Linked DNA regions of Homo sapiens: regions 1 and 3 are each linked to region 2. The links are contacts of gene promoters, found by promoter capture Hi-C in human tissues and cell types (Jung and others, 2019). All regions are on one chromosome and are shown on one strand. The core of a region is centred on a gene start or on the middle of the fragment in contact, and the rest is flanking DNA. Distances in the headings are between cores, read along the strand shown. Region 1 overlaps PARP16 (poly(ADP-ribose) polymerase family member 16). Region 2 holds the start of MTFMT (mitochondrial methionyl-tRNA formyltransferase). Region 3 has its middle 7.7 kb from the start of CILP.

The links. Contacts are between HindIII fragments. The study calls those that stand out against the background at their distance.
Region 1: a fragment that was not itself captured here is called in contact with the fragment with the promoter of MTFMT in region 2 in 2 of the 25 tissues and cell types used here (liver and small bowel).
Region 3: a fragment that was not itself captured here is called in contact with the fragment with the promoter of MTFMT in region 2 in 1 of the 25 tissues and cell types used here (lymphoblastoid cells).

Annotation. Positions count from the first base shown.
Region 1 is chr15:65,257,144-65,261,308 of GRCh38, reverse strand. PARP16 (poly(ADP-ribose) polymerase family member 16) reads left to right here. Exons shown (of 6, transcript NM_001316943.2): 5 at 283-424; 6 at 1,767-3,210. The coding sequence ends at 1,902. Among named protein-coding and RNA genes, the nearest start is that of SNORA24B, 26 kb to the left of the region's middle. The HindIII fragment of the contact is 5,032 bases long and covers 48-4,165 here.
Region 2 is chr15:65,027,413-65,031,798 of GRCh38, reverse strand. It overlaps MTFMT (mitochondrial methionyl-tRNA formyltransferase), which reads left to right and starts at 2,160. Exons shown (of 9, transcript NM_139242.4): 1 at 2,160-2,394. The coding sequence starts at 2,186. RefSeq lists silencers at 2,008-2,197, 2,448-2,747. The HindIII fragment of the contact is 8,500 bases long and covers 1-4,386 here.
Region 3 is chr15:65,217,166-65,221,198 of GRCh38, reverse strand. No RefSeq gene overlaps it. Among named protein-coding and RNA genes, the nearest start is that of CILP, 7.7 kb to the right of the region's middle. The HindIII fragment of the contact is 5,084 bases long and covers 1-4,033 here.

The sequences.
Region 1 (4,165 bases), core at 1,314-3,813, 230 kb before region 2:
TGGCCATCAATTTGCTTCTTCCTTCTGTTCTCCCCACTCAGTTGAGTTTTGTTTTTTCTTCCTTGTATCCCTTATATTTTCCTACTCTTTTTTTCCTCCTCCCATTTGCCTGCCAGATTCTCCGTTTTTTTCAGTGCTGCTTCATGCACACACAGGTCTGTTCCTCAGCCTGCCAGGCCTTCTTCCCCCTCAGCACCAGGAGGCTTGACTTATTTCTATTTATAATGTGCTTCCTTAGTTCTGTTTCCCCCAGTGAAGATGTGTTTTACTCTCCTTATTCAGATTCCAAGGAGATAGATCGCAGACGAGCGAGAATCAAACATAGTGAAGGGGGAGACATCCCTCCCAAGTACTTCGTGGTCACCAATAACCAGCTGCTGCGAGTGAAGTACCTCCTGGTGTATTCACAGAAGCCACCCAAGAGGTAAGGTCCAAGAGAACAACTAATGGCTGTATTCAGAGTGCTGGCTTTCTTAGTTGTTGTAGGTATCAGCCTCCCCTCCCCCAGCCTTAGACCTCCGCTAGATGTCAAGTATGTAAAGCACCATGCTGGACACGGTGAGAAGTGAGAGATAGGATCTGGAGAAGATGTGGTCCCGACCCTAAGAGGACTGTATTCCAGTGAGAAGAGAGAAAGATTGGTAAACACAAATAGCATGAGAGACTGACTGAGTCCAAATTGGCTGCCGCAAACAGTGTGGCCCCTTAGCCATTAGGCCCATGATTGCAGTCTGAGACCCACCGATGAGGTTAAGCTGAGAGGCAGGGCAGTGACTGGACACCGGTTGTGATTGTGCACAGGCTGGCTCAGTAGCTTCCCACAGTGGCTGCTGAACCACTGACTGCCCCTCTCTGGACCTGAGATGCTTCATCTTTATCTCTAAAATGAGGGCCTTGAACTCAATAGCAGATGTGGGCCTTCAGACCTTATCAGCTTTGGTGGATGCCTAGTTCCATCTCTGCAGTGTGGGAGTAAGTGTGGGGCTCACCAGCGTTGGGGGCCACTCTTGAGATTTTGTTGCATTGTTGGAATCCATGATGGTGCTTCTTGCAGGGGCCAGCAGCAGGTAAGTAGATATGACAGGAAAAGGGGTCACTTTAAATAATCCCCACTCCTGCTTGTACACACCAGTGGTTTCCATGCTTCCAGACTTCATAAACCAGTAAAGTCTCCTCCCGACCCCTGTCCAAATTTGGGAAATGTATATAGGGTGCCTGGGTCCAGGTGACATTATGCTTTGGTTTAAAATCATCTAACTTTTTATCCTTGAAAATTCCATTCCTTTCCCACTTCTCCCTGGAGCATCTCTTTAGTGCACACTTGGGTGGTTTAGATCATCTCCTAGTGGGCCAAAGAGGATTTCCCCAGCTTGGATTTATATCTGCATGTGTCTAAAAGTGAAAAGACTTCAGCTAAATTACCTGCCACCTGCCACCATCTGGGCAGACACCCTGAGCTAGGTCATTGTTATAGATACCAAGATGGGTTGTAAATGGTAAAAGAGGAGCTACAAAAGGGAAGATCAGGATGAGCTCATTGCATAGCTGTCTTTGCGCATTTAGAAAATATCCTGTTGAAAGGCGTGTCAGTGCCTGGGCAAACAGCCCCAGGTTTCTTGAGCAAGGAAGCACGAAGCTTCATTTCATGGCTCAGGCAAAGGATGAAATTCATCATTTTGTCTTCTTAGAGCCAGACTTGTTGTACACACTTAAAAAAAATGTTTTTCTCTTTTTGCCAACACCACTCTTTTTTCCCTCTTAAGCAGGGCTTCGAGCCAGCTCTCCTGGTTTTCCAGCCATTGGTTTACCGTCATGATATCCCTGTATCTGCTGCTGCTGCTCATAGTGAGTGTCATCAACTCCTCTGCTTTCCAACACTTTTGGAATCGTGCGAAAAGATAATCTTTCTGGGCCTGGTGTGGGGGCTACCTCAACTATGTGCCTTATGGTAACTTGTTCTGTACCTCCTATGCCTCATGTCCAGCCAGGTTGAGCCTAGGGGCCAGTTGGGGGACCACAGGACAATTTTCATATGGCCTAAATGTATCCATTGCCTTTGATGATGTTCCCAGCCATACTCCAGTCAACGGGGACTACTAGTCCCTCACTCTTAGGTTTTAGGGGAGTCCTTCCATCTGCTCCTTCTTAAACTGTCCTAGGGAGTTGGCTTTTCAGCCAGGGCCAAAGGAAAAAGCCCTGCTGCATTTAAAAACAAAGTGTCCAAGCTGTCAGTGGTGTGTTTACAATCTCTCCTGGCAGAGGTTGGCCCTTTCTCTAATGCCTTCTGGAAGGCGGAAAATGTGGGAACTATAAATCACTAGGCGGTTGCCTTGTTTTGACTTGAGACACCCAAGAGGAACAGTCATGTTTCTCATAAAAATCAGTGGGATCATTTTTGAATTCCATCAGCCTTTGTATGTGAGTGCAAAACATTTTAACAGTTTTCTCAAATCAACAAACAGCCTTCTCCTATAGCTGTACTTGCCCCCCTCCCCAAAAAACCATGGATGAGAAAGAAAGGAGTCAGGGGCCTGATAAAAAATACAGACTTAATGAGCAACTCAAGATGAGAAAACTGCTCTTTTTCCAAAAATTACCAACTGCTGATTACAGCTGAAATGGAACCAAATGTTTGTTTTCTGATTTTTTTTTAATAGCTGTTTAACAAATTAGTCTTTGCTGAGTAAAAGGGGAAATTTCTAAACCTAGTGCACTGTTTGGCCAGTGTCCACAGCCTCTTTTCTGGCTGTGTTTTAGAGAAAGGGATTTGAGCTATAGGCTCGCCTCCTGTTCTCATTCTCACAAAGCTGCCTTGACTGTGGCCTGCAACCACGAGTGCCATGCTTTCAGGTCTTCTGTGGCCTACTGGCCTTCAAGACAGAGGCCTGCCCCAGTGTGCCACAGATCCATGTGGATGGAGCCTCCTTCAGAGGGGTCACAGGTCTTTGAGACTCAGCCTGGGCTTTAATGTGTAGGAAAAGCCTTCTGGCCACCCAGAGAGCCGGAGCCCTGCTTGCTGTATTCTCTGCTCCCTTCTTCCTGCTGGGTTTTAGCCATAATAGGGCCCGGTACGATTTGGGAGTGACATTTCTGTAAAGAAGAGGAAAAATCATTTTTCTATAATTTGTAAAGTTGTGAAAGAGCCACTACCACAGTTTTTACATTGATTATTGGAACATTTCAGAATAAATAAAGATATTTTCTTAATGATTTAAGTTGCCTTTGTGAGTGCTTTTAGCCTTAGTGTGAGTCTGCCCTATATGCCTTGTTGTTAAAAACTTTATCTTCCATCCTTCCTTGTTCAAACTAGCTGTTTGCTGGAGAGCATATATCACCAGGATATGATATCTAGGAGGTGTTGGATTTCTAGTTAATGACTTAACAAACGTGAGTACCTACTGTATGCCAGGCACTAGGAATACGAGCAGGATCAAAGTCAGAAAGCCCCTGCTTTCACAGAGCTGACAGCCTGCAAGGTGGGCAGATGGACAAACATTTCAAGAGTGAGGTTGGGAGTTTATGGTATTATAAAGTTTAGGGAAATACTTGGCAAGGAGTCCTAACATGGTCTAGGGTCAGAAAATACTCAGGTGACACATGTAACATTGCAAGGCACCTTACTATACTGGTTAATTTTCACAACAGGCCTTATCTACTTTTTTTTTTTTTTTTTTTTTTTGAGACAGAGTCTTGCTCTGTCACTCAGGCTGGAGTGCAGTGACGCAATCTCGGCTCACTGCAGCCTCTGCCTCCCGGGTTCAAGCAGTTTTCCTGCCTTAGCCTCCCTGTAGCTGGGATTACAGGCACACACCACCATGCCTGGCTCATTTTTGTATTTTTATTTTTATTTTATTTCTTTCTTAAATTTTTTTTTTGAGCTGGAGTCTCGCTCTGTCACCTAGGCTAGAGTGCAGTGGTGCAATCTCAGCTCATTGCAACCTCTGGCTCACTGCAACCTCTGCCTCCCGGGTACAAGCAATTCTCCTGTCTTAGCCTCCTGAGTAGCTGGGATTACAGGCGCATGCCACCACACCTGGCTAATTTTTGTGTTTTTAGTAGAGATGGGGTTTTACCATGTTGGCCAGGCTGGTCATGAACTCCTGACCTCAAGTGATCTGCCCACCTTGGCCTTCCAAAGTACTGGGATTACAGGTGTGAGCCACCA
Region 2 (4,386 bases), core at 911-3,410:
TACTGGAATATCTTCCTCTTTGCTTCTCTTTTCTGTTCAAAACACATGTGAATTTCTCAATGTCTATGCATACATTAGACAACCTTCCTCAGTAATACCAAACTACATGAGAAATGGGGGTCCCTACAGAGTATTAAGGGGGCACATGGGCTAAGCACGGTGGCTCATGCCTGTAATCCCAGCACTTTGGGAGGCCAAAGCAGGTGGATCACCTGAGGTCAGGAGTTCGAGACCAGCCTGCCCAACACGGCAAAACCCCATCTCTACTAAAAATACAAAAAATTAGCCAGACGTGGTGGCAGGCGCCTGTAATCACAGCTACTCAGGAGGCTGAGGCAGCAGAATCGCTTGCACAGGGGAGGTGGAGGGTGCAGTGAGCCAAGATCACACCACTGCACTCCAGCCTGGGTGACAGAGTGAGACTCTGTCTCAAAAACAAAAACAAAAACAACAGCAACAACAAAAAAAAACAGGGGCACATGGAGAAAGACAAGAAATCTAAGGAGGCAAGAGCTTGAAGCTTCAGGGCGAATGTCTGAACTTCGTGTTGAAGAATGGATACCATTTAGAGATGAAGAGATGTGGGAAGGCAGTCTAGGAAGGGAGCATGAGCAAAGGCACAGGAGCAGGGATGTGCAGAGCTCATAATTTAGGAAAAAGGACTGGTCCAGGGTCACTGGGTTTAAGACTGTGTGATGGGAAAAGGTGGTGAGACGGCAGGGCGCAGTGGCTCATGCCTGTAATCCTAGCACTTTGGGGGGCCAAGGCAGGCAGATCACCTGAGGTCAGGAGTTCAAGACCAGCCTGGTCAACATAGTGAATCCCATCTCTACTAAAAATACAAAAATTAGCTAGGTGTAGTGGCGCATGTCCCAGCTACTTGGGAGGCTGAGGCAGGAGAATCGCCTGAACCTGGGAAGCAGCGGTTGCAGTGAGCCAAGATCGCCCGCCACTGCCCTCCAGCCTGAAAAACAGAGCGAGACTCCATCTCAAAAAAAAAAAAAAAAAAAAAAAAAATGGTGGTGAGAATAAGATTAGAACAAAATTCGGTTTCAGTCTCTGCTCAGATCCTGTTTCATGGATGTCTGACTCCACTCAAGGAGGCTTTGGGGATACAGAATCTAAGCACTAACGGTCCTCGGAGGTCTTCTGGGGATAAGGTTCCCTGTCCATTTCCCTAGGAATCACCTCTATGGTATCCTTCTGTGTGCAAAGGAACCCACAGGGGAGGAGTAAAGATGGAGCCTTCGATTCAAGAAAGTAACTGCAGACAAGTAACTAAGGCTCAGTTTCCTCAGGTGCAAAATGTGGGTAATTGACTTGCCTAATACATAGGATCGCTGAGAAGGCCCAACGGCTAGGATTACAAGCGTTGGAATTACAAGAGTCCCACCTCTGCTCTGTCCTTTACTAGCTGTGTGGACCTTATACACTGGTAAGTCCTTAATTTCACGGAGCTTCAGTTTCTCTTCAGTAACATATTTGTAATAGTATCTACCTCCTAAGGTTGATCTGATGATTAACCAGAATAATGAATATAAAATGCTTAGCAAAAACGTGGCACGGAGTGAAGTACTCAGCAAATATTGGTTATAATGGTTGAGGAAATGACATGCACTATATACATGAGGTTTCATTGTCTGAAAACATGCACGATTTGTTACCAAAAGACTTATCCTGGGCCGGCGCAGTGGCTCACGCCTGTAACCCCAGCACTTGGGGAGGCCAAGGCAGGAGGATTGCTTGAGACCTGGGCAACATAGTGAGATACTCTCTCTACAAAAAATCAGCCCAGCATGGTGATGTGTGCCTGTACCCCAGCTACTCCGGAGGCTGAGGTGGGAGGATCCCTTGAGCCCAGGAGCAGTGAGGTTGCAGTAAGCAGAGATCGCGCCACAGCACTCCAGCCTGCGCGACAGAGCAAGACCCTTTCTGAAATAAATAAATAAATAAATAAATAAATAAATAAAGCGATTTTAAAAAGAAAAGAAAGACTTATTCTGGAGGATTGGCTACATAGTGCAAATAAACAGAACAAAAATCTAGGGCCGCTGTAGCGGGCAAATTCGTTCACCAACTCCAACCAGACCCCGCCTCCAAGCAGGCAAGCCCCGCCCTCCCCAGGCTGCACCCTTGTCCCCGCCCCGATGCGCCTGCGCAGGGCCGGCCGCCGGCGGCCGAGGCGATGAGGGTGTTGGTGCGGCGCTGTTGGGGTCCTCCGCTGGCTCATGGCGCCAGGCGTGGGAGGCCGAGTCCCCAGTGGCGAGCACTGGCCCGACTCGGCTGGGAGGACTGCCGGGACTCCAGAGTCCGCGAGAAGCCTCCCTGGCGGGTGCTCTTCTTCGGCACGGACCAGTTCGCCCGCGAGGCGCTGCGGGCGCTGCACGCCGCCAGGTACCCGGGCCAGGGATCCGGGGACCCGGCCGCTGAAGGCCTCCAGGCCGCGCCCGGGCGGCCGGCCCCGAGGGTTTTGGACTTCTGGTTGCGGAAAGCATGGGCGGCAGAGCGGTGTGGGCCCAGATCTCGGCGTCTTCTGGCTCCCAGAAGGTGCGCCATTCCCGCCGGTCAGCCTTTGGGCGCCTAGTACCTGCGGTCTGCGCCCCTCACTCCCCGCCGCCTCTGTGGGTTCTCCAGGCGCCCTGCCACCCACGCTGTGCCGAGCTGGGGCTGGGCGCTCTGCCTGCATCCCCCGGGCCAGTCCCACGGCCTCCCTGCCCGTTTTGAGTGTGGGGAATCCGTGGCTCAGAGAGGTTATGCGATTGCCCAAGGTCATCAGCCGAGGTGGTTCGGACTAAAACCAGGTCCCACTTCAAAGTTCCCTGCTTTGCAGTTCCTCCTGACCCCCATCCTTCGGCACACCCGTGTCTCGCTCTTTTGCTCCCCCTGTGCTCCTTGTATACAAGGACATAGTCCAAAAACGACCTGTTTTCAAAAGAATAAATTTATAAATCAGAACTGTTAGGTATACATTTAGTATTCATAATATTTAACAAGTTTTGTTTACTGGGAAAGAAAATTATTTGAAATCCAACCAGTCCTGAGAGTCCATGGTATGTGGTGGCAATACCGTATATACTTCTCTGCCTCTTTTTCCCAATTAATGTTTTTTATTTCCCCATTCTGTTTTTTTCTGACGCAGTCCTCCTTCCACTTTTTTTGGTCATCTCCATCTCCTTTTCCCTACAGATACTTCACAGCAGCCCCTCATGTATTGAATCCTTCGTCAATCCCCTGTGTGGTTTTCCTTCCTCCACACACCCCTCTGTGCACACACCCGGAAGGAAACCCCATGTTCCCTTTGCACACCCTTCATGGGCTGCTGTTGTCACATGCGTCTCTCACTGCATTTATACATTTATACCAACACTTTTTTTGTTTGTTTCTGAGGCGAGGTCTCGCGCTGTCCCCCAGGCTGGAGTGCAGTGGCCGGCTCATAGCTCACTGCAGCCTCGACCTCAAAGATCAAGCAATCATCCCATCTCAGCTTCCAGAGTAGCTAGGACTACGGGCGTGCACCACCACGCCTGATTTTTAAATTTTTTGTAGAGGCGGGTTTTCACCATGTTGCCCAGGCTTATCTCAAACTCCTGGGATCAAGTGATCCTCTCACCTTGGCCTCCCAAAGTGCTGAGATTACAGGCCTGAGCCATCATTCCTGGCCTATCCTGATACTTCTGATGATGCTTCACTTGGCAGCTCCATTACTCCTGTGCTTTCTTTATAGTGCCCCAGGACATACTCCTCATAACTCCTCAACGTGTACATACAATACCTGTTTAATAAATGTACCCCCCTGGGTACTAGAATGCTATGCAGCAGGTAGAAAGGATGAGGTAGTGCTACAGGTACTGCCATGGAATGATAGCCATGTTATGTATTTTTGTTTGTTTTTTAAAAAGTAGTGTTTGAATGGCATCATGGTTATGGTAAAAAAGTTCCATGGATTCAAAGGATATACAGTGAAAAGTTACTTCCTTCCACCTCTGTTTAGCAGTTCCCAGTTCCTTTATCCAGAGACAGCCACTGTTTTCAGTTCCTTCTAGAAATGTTCAGTGAATATACAAATATACGTATATTTAACCCATTTTTCAAAAAGACACATAATAGCATATATAGCATTGTTAAAAGGAAAAAAAATGCAAAGCAGTATGTAATATCCCAGTTGTGTAAAGTATCCATACTGTATATGTTTCTGTATGCACAGGAAATCCCTAGAATGATACTGTTCAAACAGTAGCCACTAGCCACGTGTCACTCTTTACATTTTAAATAATTAAAATTAAATAAAAAATGAAAACTGAGGCTGGGCACGGTGTTCACGCCTGTAATCCCAGCACTTTGGGAGGTGGAGGCGGACGGATCACTTGAGGTCAGGAGTTGGAGACC
Region 3 (4,033 bases), core at 928-3,427, 190 kb before region 2:
ACAGCAGTGAGCTATGATCGCACCACTTGTACTCCAGCCTGGACAATAAAGCAAGACCCTGTCTCTAAAAGCAAAAACAAAAACATAGAAGAAAAAGCCTTTGCAACTGTGGATTTGGCAAGGATTTCTTAGATGCAACACCAAAAACACAATCCATAAAATAAAAAATTGATCAATTAGAAAAGATAAGCCATAGACTGGGAAAAAATATTTTCAAAACATATATCTGATAAAGGAATTGTATCCAGAATCTATAAAGTACACATTAAACTCGATAATAAGAAAATAAACGGCACTTTGGAAGGCCGAAGCAGAAGGATAACTTGAGCTCAGGAGTTTGAAACCAGCCTGGGCAACATGAAATCCCATTTCTACAAAAAATAAAACCCAATTAGCAAGGTGTGGTGGCATGCACCTGTAGTCCTAGCTACTTGGGAGGCTGAGGCAGGAAGATCTCTTGAGCCTGGGAGGTGGAGGTTGCAATGAGCCATCATGATGCCATTGCACTCCAGCCTGTGCAAAAGAGCGAGACCCTGTCTCCAAAAAAGAAAAAAAAAAGAAATGACTCAATTACAAAATGGGCAAAATATCTGTACAGATACTTCATCAAAGAAGATATATGAATGGCAATTAAGATTCCTAACATCATTGGTCACTAGGGAAATGCAAATTGAAATCACAATGAGATCACACTGTACACCTATTAGAATGGCTAAAAACAAACAAATAATCAAACATAAAACCTTGACAATATCAGGTGCTGATGTGAATGCTGAGCAACTAGAACTCATACATTGCTGGTGGGAATGTAAAAGGTACCATCACTTTGGAAAACAGTTTAGCAGTTTCTTATAAAGTTGAACATACACTTACCATAGAGCCTACTTGTAGGTATTTACCCAAAAGAAATGAAAAACATGTTTACACAAAAGCCTGTGTACAAATTATAGCTAAAATGTACTTGCTAAAAACTAGAGAACTGGGCCGGGCGCGGTAGCTCACACTTGTAATCCCAGCACTTTGGGAGGCTAAGGCCGGTGGATCACCTGAGGTCAGAAATTCAAGACCAGCCTGGCCAACATGGTGAAACTCTGTCTCTTTAAAAAAAAAATACAAAAATGAGCCAGGCGTGGTGGTGCATGTAGTCTCCAGCTACTCAGAAGGTGGAGGCAGGAGAGTCACTTGAACCAGGAGGGGGAGATTGCAGGGCAGTAAGATTGTGCCACTGCACTCCAACCTAGGTGACAGAGCGAGACTCCGTCTCAAAAAAATAAGAATAAAATTTTTTTTAAAAAACTGAAGAACTGGCCAGATGCAGTGGCTCACACCTGTAATCCTAGCACTTTGGGAAGCCAAGGAGACGGATCACCTGAGGTGAGGAGTTCGAGACCAGCCTGGCCAACATGGCGAAACCCTGTCTCTACTAAAAACACAAAAAAATTAGCCAGGCGTGGTGGTGGGAGCCTGTAATCCCAGCTACGTGGGAAGCTGAGGGAGGAGAATCACCTAAACCCGGAGGCGGAGGTGGCAGTGAACTGAGATCGCACCACTGCACTCCAGCCTGGGCAACAGAGCGAGACCTCATCTCAAAAAAAACAAACAAAAAACAAAAAACTAAACAAAACAAAACAAAAAGCTGAAGAACTGTAGACAATCTACATGTCCTTCATCTGGGAAATGAAGAAACAAATTGTGCTACGTACATGCAATGAATACTACTCAGCAGTAAAAAGGAATGAACGGTTGATACACACAACACCATGGACGATTATACTAAATGAAAGAAACCAAATTCAAAAGGCTCCTACCATATGCCTCCATTTATATGACATTCTCAAAAAGGCAAAACCACAGTGAAAGAAAGATTTGTGGTTGTCAGTAATTGGGGATGGGGAGAAGGGCTGACTACAAAGGAAACTTCTGAGGTTTTGGAAATATTTTTTATCTTAATTGTGATGGTGTTACATGATTATATTTGTCAAAAATCACAGAAGTGTAGATCCAAAAGACTGAATTTTACAATATAAAAATTTCAACTTTTAAAAATTGGGGGTGGGATTCAAATTCCTTCTCCCTTTTGTTTGTCTTCCTTGTCACTGCCCAACATCCTGCCCTTGAAGCTCTTGTTCTCCTAGAGAAAACATTGCCCAGATTCGGCCACACTGAAGACTGCCTTGCTTCTGAGGAAAAAAGGGAAACCCACTAAGAATGGTCTGCAGGGCCACGTGTCTGTCTCTGTCCCACCCTCTGTCCCACGCCATCTGTGTAGGCCCAGTTGCCAAGGGCGACCCAGCCTTTCTAACCTCCATTTCACCTTCCCTGGGCTAGAGTCCTGGTGGTGACCTGGGCAGGGACCAAACCCTTACGGCCCAGGTGCTATATGGGCGAAGATTTTGCTTGGAAAGAGGGCGGCTCCTCCCACTCAACTTCTCACAGCTGTGTTTTCTAACCAATAAAATACCCACGTGTCCGGAGAACATATAGCCAGAGAGGGCATCTACCCAGCATCCACCTCACTTCATCCCCTACCAAGGCCACCCCTGTCACTGCTGCAGGCTTTTCTGGGCTGCCAGCATCTTGGCCAGAGCTGAAGCCACACCACACCCAGAGCCATCTGGGACCTCTCAAGAGAGTCATGAAGAGGCCTCGGGTCATGGGAAGGAGAGCAGCAGAGTCTGGTGGGTGCATGGGTGAGCTTATGCCCTAGAACACCCAGGGCATACCCATGGTGAGTGTGAATAGCCAGGGGAGGGTGAACACTCTTGAGATAACACCTGGGTGAATGTGCACCCCCTAATCCTATACAAAATTGTGAATGTGGATGTTCATGGGAAATACAAGGGGGATACAGTGGTATGAACACTATGACGTGCACATATAGAGTAGGAACTCAGCTGGTTCATGCAGTGAACACTACAATGTCACTGAATGAGAGCAAACTATGAAAGTGTGGTGAAGACGCTATGGACTGTGAACATACTATGGTAAATTTGTTGAATGTCATGGTGACATTGCATGAATTCTGTAGTCAGTGGTGAAAACACGGGCCTCTAGGGTGTGTGTGAACACACTGTGATAAGCATGGTGGACGCTATAGATGCTGTGTGTGAACATAAGGCCCTGACTGGGCTGAATCCATCATAGGAACACTGAGGTGACCCTGCTTTAAGCTTGAGAAGCATTCTGGGGTGACCACAGTGAGCGTGTTATGCAGAGGGTGGAGAGCTCTACTGAGCACGTTTTGGAGTATCTGCTGTGATCATAGCCCATTCTCTGGGAATCTTCTCCCACCTATGGCCGCTGAGTAAGCACATGCTTACAAGACTAGGTGCTGATCAGTACGCTGCAGTATTCACAGCAACCAGTGTGGCATGTGCAGTGCTGAAGGTTTCTTTCTTTTTCTCCTATTTCCTAAGTTGGAGTTGTTATTATGGTTGCTTGGTTTTGCTCAACTGTTCTGGAGTGTGTTGCTATGGTTACAAGATGGCAGGGGTTACATAGGTGGGTTTGGAACGGAACAAATGATGGGTAAACTCTGAGGTTGACAGCTATTAAAGTGGTTTTTTCATATCATGACTCTTAACCCTTTTTTTTTTTTTTGAGATGGAGTCTGGCTCTGTCACCCAGTCTGGAGTGCAGTGGCACAATCTCAGCCCACTGCAACCTCCGCCTCCTGGGTTCAAGTGATTCTCCTGCTTCAGCCTCCCAAATAGCTGGGATTATAGGTGCCCACCACCACGACTGGCTAATTAAGACTGTCTCAAAAAAAAAAAAAAAAAAAAAAAGGGCTGGGCGCAATGGCTCACACCTGTAATCCCAGCACTTTGGGAGGCCAAGGCGGGCAGATCACCTGAGGTCAGGAGTTCCAGACCAGCCTGACCAACATGTAGAAACCCCGTCTCTACTAAAAATACAAAATTAGCCAGGTGTGGTGGCGCATGCCTGTAATCCCAGCTACTCGGGAGACTGAGGCAGGAGAATTGTTTGAACCCGGGAGGCAGAGGTAGTCATGAGCTGAGATTGTGCCATTGCA